Regions from separate parts of the Homo sapiens genome. Here all the other regions are linked to region 1. The links are contacts of gene promoters, found by promoter capture Hi-C in human tissues and cell types (Jung and others, 2019). All regions are on one chromosome and are shown on one strand. The core of a region is centred on a gene start or on the middle of the fragment in contact, and the rest is flanking DNA. Distances in the headings are between cores, read along the strand shown. Region 1 holds the start of HMGA2 (high mobility group AT-hook 2). Region 2 has its middle 86 kb from the start of MSRB3-AS1. Region 3 overlaps HMGA2 (high mobility group AT-hook 2).

Region 1 (3,252 bases), core at 528-3,027:
AGCAAACAACACAAACCCAAAAACCTATTTTGTACGTGTATGTGAAATGTGCACACCACAGTGCAAATATGTGATAGTTTTTAAATGTGCACGATTGGCAGTTAGGAAATGTCACTGTAATCGTTAGGTGAAACTTCAATCCCTTTGATGAAGATACCATCTTTGAGCCAAGCCCTGACAGAAAACCTTTGGTTCCTGTTAGACCCCTCCCTCCCCAGTCAGCTGCTGGGCTCCATCCGGAGGGATGGAGGCTCTCTCTCTCCATTACAGCTAAGCGTTCCCAGACCCAGCAGAAACCCTGGGTTCCTGCAGAGCACTCAACGTGCAGCAAAGTGTCCCAGCTCTGCAAAGGGCAGCTGGAAATGGATTTAAAATGGCAACGCGGACCAATCAGCGCTGCCGCGCCAAAGCAGACATTTACACGCGCCTCCTCCACATGCACAGCGGAACCTGGCGGTGCCTAACTCCTGCTTAGGGCTGCAAAGTAGGCGTTTTTATTCCACGGTGGTCTGTATCTTTGAAAAAAATAAATTCTTCCCCAGGTGAAAGTTTTTATTTTGGAATTAGTCCAAAATAATTTTGGGTGTGATGTGTGAAAATCTGAACCTAATTTTTTCAGAGTTTTGTGTTATTCAAGGATGAAAAGAGGTACATTTAAAAATGTACTCCACCTTTTAAAAACGGACTGTGGCCATTATGGTGTTCACATAACTCAGAACAGCCCAGGCCATAAAATTAGGACTTGGCAGAAAGAGAGTTCTCAGGCAGAAGGTTAAATCGAGGTAAACTGAAGGGAGAGTTGGGCAGTGAGTGCAATTGTGGTGTTAGGAATCTACAAGGTGCCCTTTACCCTGGGAACATCGGATTCCCGGGGAGGGGGATGGGGAGGGAACTTCGGTTGCCTCTAGTCTTTCCTGGAGAAAAAAGTTCAATGAAGAAGCTGGGGCGCTCTGTGTGTGCACATTGTTTGCATGTGTCTGCGAATGTGCATGTCTATCTGCGTGCCTGTGTGTATGTGTGTGTGTGTAAATGCGGGTGTTTACCAGCGCATGAATGCCCCCGTGTCCACGTGTATCTGCGTGCATGTGCTTACACGCGTGTTCGTGTGTATCTGCATGCATGTCTCCGTGTATGTGCGCGCTCGCCCGCCCGCAGGCTCTGTGGTGAGGGCATTCCGAGGCGGAGTACGGCTGTCAGGGGACCTCTCCCACTCCACTGCAGTCCCTTCCCACTCACAGTGAACCGGTGCGCTGCCTGAGGTGCAGCCTAGACGCTTCCTGCAAAGTGTTGGCTCGGCACGGTAGAGGCGCAGGTAAAGGCCAAGCCCCGAAACGTGGCTCCGGGACAGTCACGTTCCCGCGCCTTCCCAGGACAACTGCCCAGGGGTGACCTCGAGAGGCGGGTGGAGCTAGGCCCACGGCGAGCCAGCCCGGGATCCCCGGCCTGTCCCTTTAACCCCGCCGCCGGGCGGGAGCACGTGAGCGGGGCTCCGGGTGGCACCCGGGCGCCGCCGCCGCCGAGGCAGTTGTATTTCGAACGCTGCCTCTGGCTAGCAGCCAGGCGCCTTGGCTCGGCGGTCCGCCTGGCCTCCCTCCTCCTCATACTTTTCTTCCTGCGCAACCCCCTCCCCTTTATCCGCCCACGATTAGAGGTGGGCACTCCCCCCACCACCACCCCCTCCCCAAGCGCAAGCGCGTGCACGCACACACACCACACACACTCACACTCACACACACTCACACACACTCATCCCACTTGAATCTTGGGGCAGGAACTCAGAAAACTTCCAGCCCGGGCAGCGCGCGCTTGGTGCAAGACTCAGGAGCTAGCAGCCCGTCCCCCTCCGACTCTCCGGTGCCGCCGCTGCCTGCTCCCGCCACCCTAGGAGGCGCGGTGCCACCCACTACTCTGTCCTCTGCCTGTGCTCCGTGCCCGACCCTATCCCGGCGGAGTCTCCCCATCCTCCTTTGCTTTCCGACTGCCCAAGGCACTTTCAATCTCAATCTCTTCTCTCTCTCTCTCTCTCTCTCTCTCTCTCTCTCTCTCTCTCTCTCTCTCTCTCTCGCAGGGTGGGGGGAAGAGGAGGAGGAATTCTTTCCCCGCCTAACATTTCAAGGGACACAATTCACTCCAAGTCTCTTCCCTTTCCAAGCCGCTTCCGAAGTGCTCCCGGTGCCCGCAACTCCTGATCCCAACCCGCGAGAGGAGCCTCTGCGACCTCAAAGCCTCTCTTCCTTCTCCCTCGCTTCCCTCCTCCTCTTGCTACCTCCACCTCCACCGCCACCTCCACCTCCGGCACCCACCCACCGCCGCCGCCGCCACCGGCAGCGCCTCCTCCTCTCCTCCTCCTCCTCCCCTCTTCTCTTTTTGGCAGCCGCTGGACGTCCGGTGTTGATGGTGGCAGCGGCGGCAGCCTAAGCAACAGCAGCCCTCGCAGCCCGCCAGCTCGCGCTCGCCCCGCCGGCGTCCCCAGCCCTATCACCTCATCTCCCGAAAGGTGCTGGGCAGCTCCGGGGCGGTCGAGGCGAAGCGGCTGCAGCGGCGGTAGCGGCGGCGGGAGGCAGGATGAGCGCACGCGGTGAGGGCGCGGGGCAGCCGTCCACTTCAGCCCAGGGACAACCTGCCGCCCCAGCGCCTCAGAAGAGAGGACGCGGCCGCCCCAGGAAGCAGCAGCAAGTCAGTACGAGGGCGCGGTGGGGGCACCAGCCCACCCCGTCCCCACTGCCGGGGCCCAGACACGCGCGGGGCGGCCGGAGTGCGGGAGCCCAGTCGCCGCGGCCGTCGCACACTGCCCGCCGGCCGGCCGGGGGGAGCGGCGCAGACCCCACGAGTGCGCCGCGCGGCCCCGGGGCGCCAGCAACCCTCCGGGCGGGGAGGTGGGGAGCCGCGGCGGGCGGCCCGGGGAAGGCGGGAGGTGGGGTCGGGCGAAGCGCGTCCTCGGACTTTCGCTATTGTGCACGGCCCCGAGTGGCGCGGTGTCGCCCAGTGACTGGAAGCGACCGGGATCCGACAAACCCGGGCTCGCAGGCGCTTTCCGAGTTGCTTTTGCAACTGCCCGGGAGGAAGGAGGTGCCGGGGACCCGGGCGCTTCGGCCGATCTGGGCTGAAGGGGCTAGAGTCTTGGGGGCCGGAGGCTCTTTCTCCCGCCTCCCGGGGCTGCTCGCGGGTCGGGGGCTGGCGCGCCGCAGCCGCCCCCTTGGCGCCCTCCTCCAAGCTCTCGGTGGCCCAAGACTCGCGCCCTCCCGACAAAGA
Region 2 (3,252 bases), core at 222-2,721, 96 kb before region 1:
ATTGTAGAAATACAGAAGAAAAACAAACAAACAAACAAACAAAAAAGAATCTACTACCAAAAACAATATCCTAATGGAATACAACTGCATATTTTTTATTTCCATGCAGAACTTCACAATAAACAACCAGAAGGATCTCAGATCCAGTTTTCTTGGCCAGTTGGTCTAGAATATTCTAAACATTAAGGTAAATTAAGCAAGTAGTTGAGGTACAGTTTTGTAAGCATGCTTTGCTTAGTGACTTGTTATAATTCAATAACTTTATAATCAAGAAAGTCTTCAGGGTCTAATGTCAGTTTCTCCCAATGCTATTAAAGTCTCCTTTCTTCTTATTAAATCTTTCAGCATGTCCCAACTCCAGGGCTCTAAGGATAACCCTTAAATAACCGAATATGATTGCTAGTAACTTGAATCTTTTCTTTCAGGGTCATAATCTTAAATCCTTTCATATTTTCAATTGATGTAACTTAAATTTCTAATCCTGGTGATGCTTTTCTCTGAAATACCTCAAATTCTCATATTGAGGCCGGGCATGGTGGCTCATGCCTGTAATTCCAGCACTTTCGGAGGCCGAGGTGGCCAGATCACAAGGTCAGGAGTTCCAGACCAGCCTGATCAACATAGTGAAACTCTGCCTCTACTAAAAATACAAAAAATTAGTCAAGTGTGGTGGCGGGTGCCTGTGATCCCAGCTACTTGGGAGGTGGAGACAGGAGAATGGCTTGAACCCGGGAGGTGGAGGTTGCAGTGAGCCGAGATCAAGCCATCACACTCCAGTCTGGGCAACAGTGTGAGACTCCATCTTAAAAAAAAAAAAAGAAAAGAAAAGAAAAAGAAAAAAAATCTGTGCCACAGTTAGTATCTTCTATGCTATTAATACTACACGTGCCCTCCCCCAAAACACTACTTATTTGGTGATCTTTCTGAATTTTCTTACTTCTCTTACTAGAAGACATAATTTTAGTTAAATTGGCACTCAGAGAATGATATGATGGTATAGGTGGTACTGCTTGAACACTTACTTCCTCTGTGTTGTAGGAAATTTTAATGATTTTACTCATTAAAGTACTTTTTTTATTTATTTTACTCAATAAAGTACTATTGTACTTTATTTTTTATAGGAAAAATACGTGATTTATTGATGTACTTATGTTGTTCTTTATAAACTAAAATTCTTTCAGTTTCTTCCTTTTTCTTTTCCAATTCTCCACCTCTCCTCCCAGTACACCTCACCCTATAGGTAAGATTCCAGTTTCCAGGAGAAGGGATAAAGCCAGCTAAATTAAATTTCACCTTTCACCTATTTCTGCTGTGATCTATAACACCCCACTTAAGGTATTCAAGATTTTTCATTAGCTAAAATATTTTCTTGTTTAGGAAGCTTTAGTAGAAATATAAAGAATTGAGTTTCTGTTTTTCCTTTTATCAACAAAATACCTATTAATCATTTTGATTGTATATGCACATGGCTCTATTAAAACTAGAAAGCATAATTACATAAAATTAAGTAAAATGTACCATACCTTTTTGATAAAATGAAAAATAAATTACATTTATCTTTTCTTTGCTAAATAAAATGTATTTTTGTAAGTTTTGACTACATTTGACAACACTTAAATGAGTAAGTTTTGACTAATGATTATATCCCTTGTATTTTCTCTTAATAATAATTTAAATTGTTTTTAATTAGCTGGGGCACGTGCAGTTTAAATTTTCTAATAGTCTAGGGATAGAACAACTCTTAACATATTTTTAAACATCGATAGTGTCAGTTTTCAAACCTGGATGTTATTCAAGTCCACTTCATGTTAACATATTTTTCTCTGTGGATAACAAATACAACAGAAAAATTTTGCCAGTGTAAATAGCCAATGGAATTATGAATAATCATGTTAATAATGTTAATAAAAAGGTACAGTTAAATGAGGGAGACAATTAGTTCACACCATTTTGGTTTATTTATTTAGCAGTGAGCATTGTATAACATGTCAATCCCGGGAAAAAGAAACAGACATAAAGGGGCTTAACATTACTAATAAAACAATCAGTATCAAAATATTTTATGTAACAATTTGTCCGTGTTCATATAATAATCTGTCAACTCTGTGATTTGCTTATTATGTGAATTAACTCCATAATCGCTCTGAGATTGAATTCAGTGACACCGTTTAACTGCTTCTGGTTTGGGGGCTTTTACTCGATATTTTTAGGTAAGGAGCTGTCAGGCTAATCTGAGGACATTTAGGGAAAGCCAATAAACTGTCACGAACTTAAAACAAGTGAGGTTTCTCGTGGTTTGGTCGAAATTTTAACACTTCTCCTCTCCTACCCTTCACCTCTTCTCCTCAAAACACTTTTTTTTCTTTTACAATAACTGTAAATGCCAGCTCTAAATTTCCCTCCAATCTGGGAAAGTCCAATCTCCCTTCCTCGAGAGGTGTCTGGGCGCAATACTCTCCGGCCCGAAGCAAGGGGACGTTTGCGAGGAGGGAGAAATTTAAACCCCCTTCGCTCCGCGCCACCTGGGAGCACTTTGGCGCCGCAGACTCAGGAGCCGACGCCATCTCCAGGACGGCCTCGGTGGCCTCGGCAGGAGGCACCTTCGGGGAGCGGTCCCGCACTCCTCCTTCCTCAGTCCCCGGTCCTCTGCACCGCTCCCTCTCTGCTGCCAGAGGACCTGTCCGCGAGCTCCCCGCGCTGCCCTGGGGACGGAAAAGTTTGTTTCTCCAACGCGCAACTTTCCCGCTCCAGGCGGCGGGGACCCCGAGCCGGAGTTTTGGCCAAAAAATCCCAGAGTCCTATACCTCCTGCGCGCCCAGACCTCGGGGGCGAAGGGCGGCTCCCCCGGCGCGCCCCGATCCCCGCCGCAAAGAGGACTTGGTGGACTAGAGGTGCACCCCGCGGGCAGCCCTTGGCGCCCCGCTCTGCGCCCGCCGGCATGAGGACTCGTGCGTGGCGTTTCGACCCTCCGCCTGAACTGAGACTGGGTGGGGAAAGGGGCAGACTGCTGTCTGTGACTCTGCGGGAGGTGGAGCACGAAACACAAAAGCTGTTTGAACCACAAACGCCAGGCTGGACACCCAACGAATATTAATGACCTGCAGCCTCCACCCACCCGCAAACATAATATTATGTGTACGTGCTTACCGGTTAGCTTAACAGACTTGCCATCATAAATTCCTTTTTCACTGCAGCGCCACTAGATTTGTTGTGATTAGGATGCAGCCACTAAATTTGTTGTGATCTCCTGTT
Region 3 (3,252 bases), core at 479-2,978, 68 kb after region 1:
CCTACCAGACCATTTAGGAAGACTGGGATAAATAAGCATTATAACTCCAGGGAGCTTTCTGATTTCATGATCCATTTCTGTTTCTTAGGGGCCAGACAGTGCTAGGCTTACAGGAGACTCAAAATCTGTAGTTAACCACAGCAATAAATGAACACAAAGGAAATGCAGATGTAAGTAGGGGATAAACTTTGAGTGGTTCCATCAGTAGTGATTCATGATGTTGAACTACAATAATATTTTCCTCCACACACTCTCCCAGTTCCCATTGTGACACTGGAGCAGCATTTAGGGAAGACAGTTAGGCTTGGGGGTGCGTTCTGTGGTCATGGCTGTGGAAGATTGGTCCTACGGCTGTTAATCTGGCTGACAAATGTTTCATCAACATGCATTGTTGAAAGTGACATGATGCACAGTGCTGGTTAAGAGTCGCGTAAATAATAAAATGCCCAAGATGGGAGAAGAGCAGTTTTCCTGGCTTCTCCAAGTTTGAGCTGCAGAATCAGAAGCAGTAGAATAGAGAGAGAAGAGACAGGACACTAGCTTGGGTTCCAGCCCCAACTCTGCTGCCCTGTGCTGCGTGGCTGCAGCAAGTGACTTATCTAATAACTGTGGGTCTCAGTTTCCTCACTCATAGTATTAATGATCATTTCTCAGGAGTATTAAATAAGAGCATGAGTTTAAAGAGCCCAGTCCCGTGCCCAGCACAACGGAGGCTACCCTCCAAAGGTCAGTCCCTTTTTCTGTGTGTTTCATCCTCTCTTGGCAGCCTGTTTGCTGCATCTCTCAGCTGACTTTTGTCCCTTCCTGCTCACTTAGTCAATTCAGAGATTACAGTTTGTACAATAATGCGCTGCCTTGTCTTCTCGCTGGTGAATCTGGACCGGAGTGCTCTGCCTCTGCGCCGACACTCACTCTGATGGTCTTGGCTGGAGGACAGAGGCTGCTGGCAAAAACCTAAGAGGGAACATACCGTGGTAGCAGCATGAAAGAATTTGGCAAGGAGGTGCTCGTCACATGATTGTGATTCATACTGTACTCTCAAAATGTGGCAGGAGGGCTAGGAGAGACTTTTAATGCCAGCACACAGAGCAGAGACACTCATTTTCAAACATCACATTCTTTTTATAGTACAGGCATGCCTCACAGGGAAAATATTGAACTTGGCCTGCCAGCACCACGAGAGTCGTCCCAACTGTGATTTTATTGCTTGAGTCACTCCCTGAATCAGATACTGGCTGCACGGAGGAAGTCTTCTATTAGGGATGCTTTGAAATTGTGTTTTTAATTAATTAACACCAACTCTGGACAGGTTTTTCATTTACTCCTAGCTGACTCTTTTTTGTCTTTTCTTTTTTTGCCTGAAACTTGTTAGACATTTTTGTAAGGTCTCAGTTGGATCGCTTTTAAGTATCCTGGTGAAAGAGTCATCTGTGTTGGGTGACCAAAGCGAGGGGACCCTTCAAAGTAGAGTTTGTCATCTCCGAGAGAATCTGATCCATGGGAATGGGGTCGTCAGGAAAACGGTCCCTAAAAGTCTGGCATAGCACTTTTTGATGCCTTCAGCCGTCCTCAATCCATTCATCCTGTTGTTAAAACTTAAAACTAGAGCTGGCCAGCTGTTGAGAAAAGTCCTCAGTTTTATTTCAACCAAATGATGCTGCCTCCTGGGGCTGGAAGGGGGCTGACTTCAAGCACAATTATAAATGTGTAGCTCTTTCAAGCGGCGGAAACCTACAAAATGGCCTTGATTCACAGGGCCCCTCTGGCTCAAAGACTCTCTGCTTCCCGTGTGTCATAAATCTGTATCTGCATCAAAAAGTGTAAAGACGGCAGTGTATGGAAGTCCCTCTTCCTCTGCGAGTGTGTCTATGACAGATTTATACTGATGGCTACACTGCACCCCGGTCACAGGCTCCTATTATAGTCATGCCCCACTGACTCAGCCCCCATTTCCTGTGGAAGGGGAGACAAGGTCCTGCATGAAGGAGGGTGAAATTACAGCTCAACTCTCGAATTGCTGTTAGTACAGGAGGACCTTTAAGGGCTGCAGCAAGACCCATTTTGTTCATAGCAACATCTACTGTCTCCTCACCCCAGTGTGGTCACAGCTAAAACCTAAGGCATTTAGTTTCATGACAAGATATGCCATGACAGGGTACTCCAGAATTCAACAAGGCCAAATGGATACATGCGAAAAGAACAAACCACCTCATTTGTTATAATTTTTGTTTCTTCAAAGTGGTTTTCTTTTTCTTCCTGAGGGTACAAGTTTCAAATGTGGAAATTTTTTAAGGTAGCATTTGAATCCACCTCTCTATTAGTATTTGCAAATGGATGCAGAACAGGACTGGTTTTTGAAACCACCTCCTTGTTAGAGATTTTTCATCCTTTGCAAACATTGTAGGGTTTCAGAGGTAGCGGCTGGTGAGAACCCTCTTGTGTTTGACTGCAGCCTTCGAGGTTTAGAGCTGTCCTGCATTTCAGGGGGTGAATGGCTACTGGTAAAGAGGTCAAAATGAGCTTTATTCCAAGAGTTAAGCAATGAAGTTGCAAAGTTTAATTGGTGTAATTTTGGGAGATAAGGATGGAAAGGGAAGGATGTTAGGATAGTTTGAATCCTCTAAGAGGAGAAAAGGCAAAACTGATATTTGACTTTCCCACTGTATTTAGAGTATAGCCTTCATGGGGTAGCTGTTTCTTCTTGTGTTTGGTATGGCTCAGAGCACTTGAAAATGTCACTGGCTGAAGAAGAGTGCTTGTGATGATATTTTTTAATTCACTTTTTTTGTAGACTTTAGTACTATAAAGAAATGATACATAGAGGGGAGTAAAAACTTGTCTAGCTAACAATTGGTATTATAATGGTTTTGAATGCACAGTTCTGATTAAATTTTATACATTTCTTCCGTTGGCCAACTTATCGTGAGCCTGGTTGTATGCCTCTGGTGTTTGTATGATATTCACTGCATTTTTTTCTAACGTGTTAAGGATTCTATTTTAAATAGAAAATCAGATTGCAGTTTGAAAAACTTAGTTTTAAAACTCTACCATCTGCTAGATTTGTGGAAGAGGATCTGGTAAATGAAAATTGTGTGTGTATGTGTGTGGTTTATTTTATAGGCACTGCATATTTCTTTGATGATCTATTTTCCAAGCTCATTCTTATCTTTTAGAAGATGTTTCAAGGATTTATGCATCTGGCAAGATTTCAGAGAACTCTATAGTGGTGGAGATGTACACTCCATTTATAGG

Evidence for each region. Contacts are between HindIII fragments. The study calls those that stand out against the background at their distance.
Region 2: a fragment that was not itself captured here is called in contact with the fragment with the promoter of HMGA2 in region 1 in 4 of the 25 tissues and cell types used here (IMR-90 fibroblasts, aorta, mesenchymal stem cells and 1 more).
Region 3: a contact is called between a fragment that was not itself captured here and the fragment with the promoter of HMGA2 in region 1, in 2 of the 25 tissues and cell types used here (neural progenitor cells and pancreas).

The regions. Positions count from the first base shown.
Region 1 is chr12:65,822,706-65,825,957 of GRCh38, forward strand. It overlaps HMGA2 (high mobility group AT-hook 2), which reads left to right and starts at 1,778. Exons shown (of 5, transcript NM_003483.6): 1 at 1,778-2,676. The coding sequence starts at 2,566. It also overlaps the pseudogene RPSAP52. RefSeq lists an enhancer at 2,898-3,252. The HindIII fragment of the contact is 9,780 bases long and covers 1-3,252 here.
Region 2 is chr12:65,726,578-65,729,829 of GRCh38, forward strand. No RefSeq gene overlaps it. Among named protein-coding and RNA genes, the nearest start is that of MSRB3-AS1, 86 kb to the left of the region's middle. The HindIII fragment of the contact is 9,120 bases long and covers 1-3,252 here.
Region 3 is chr12:65,891,177-65,894,428 of GRCh38, forward strand. The region is part of intron 3 of HMGA2 (high mobility group AT-hook 2); the gene reads left to right. Among named protein-coding and RNA genes, the nearest start is that of HMGA2-AS1, 10 kb to the left of the region's middle. RefSeq lists enhancers at 300-1,212, 853-1,147. The HindIII fragment of the contact is 4,443 bases long and covers 1-3,252 here.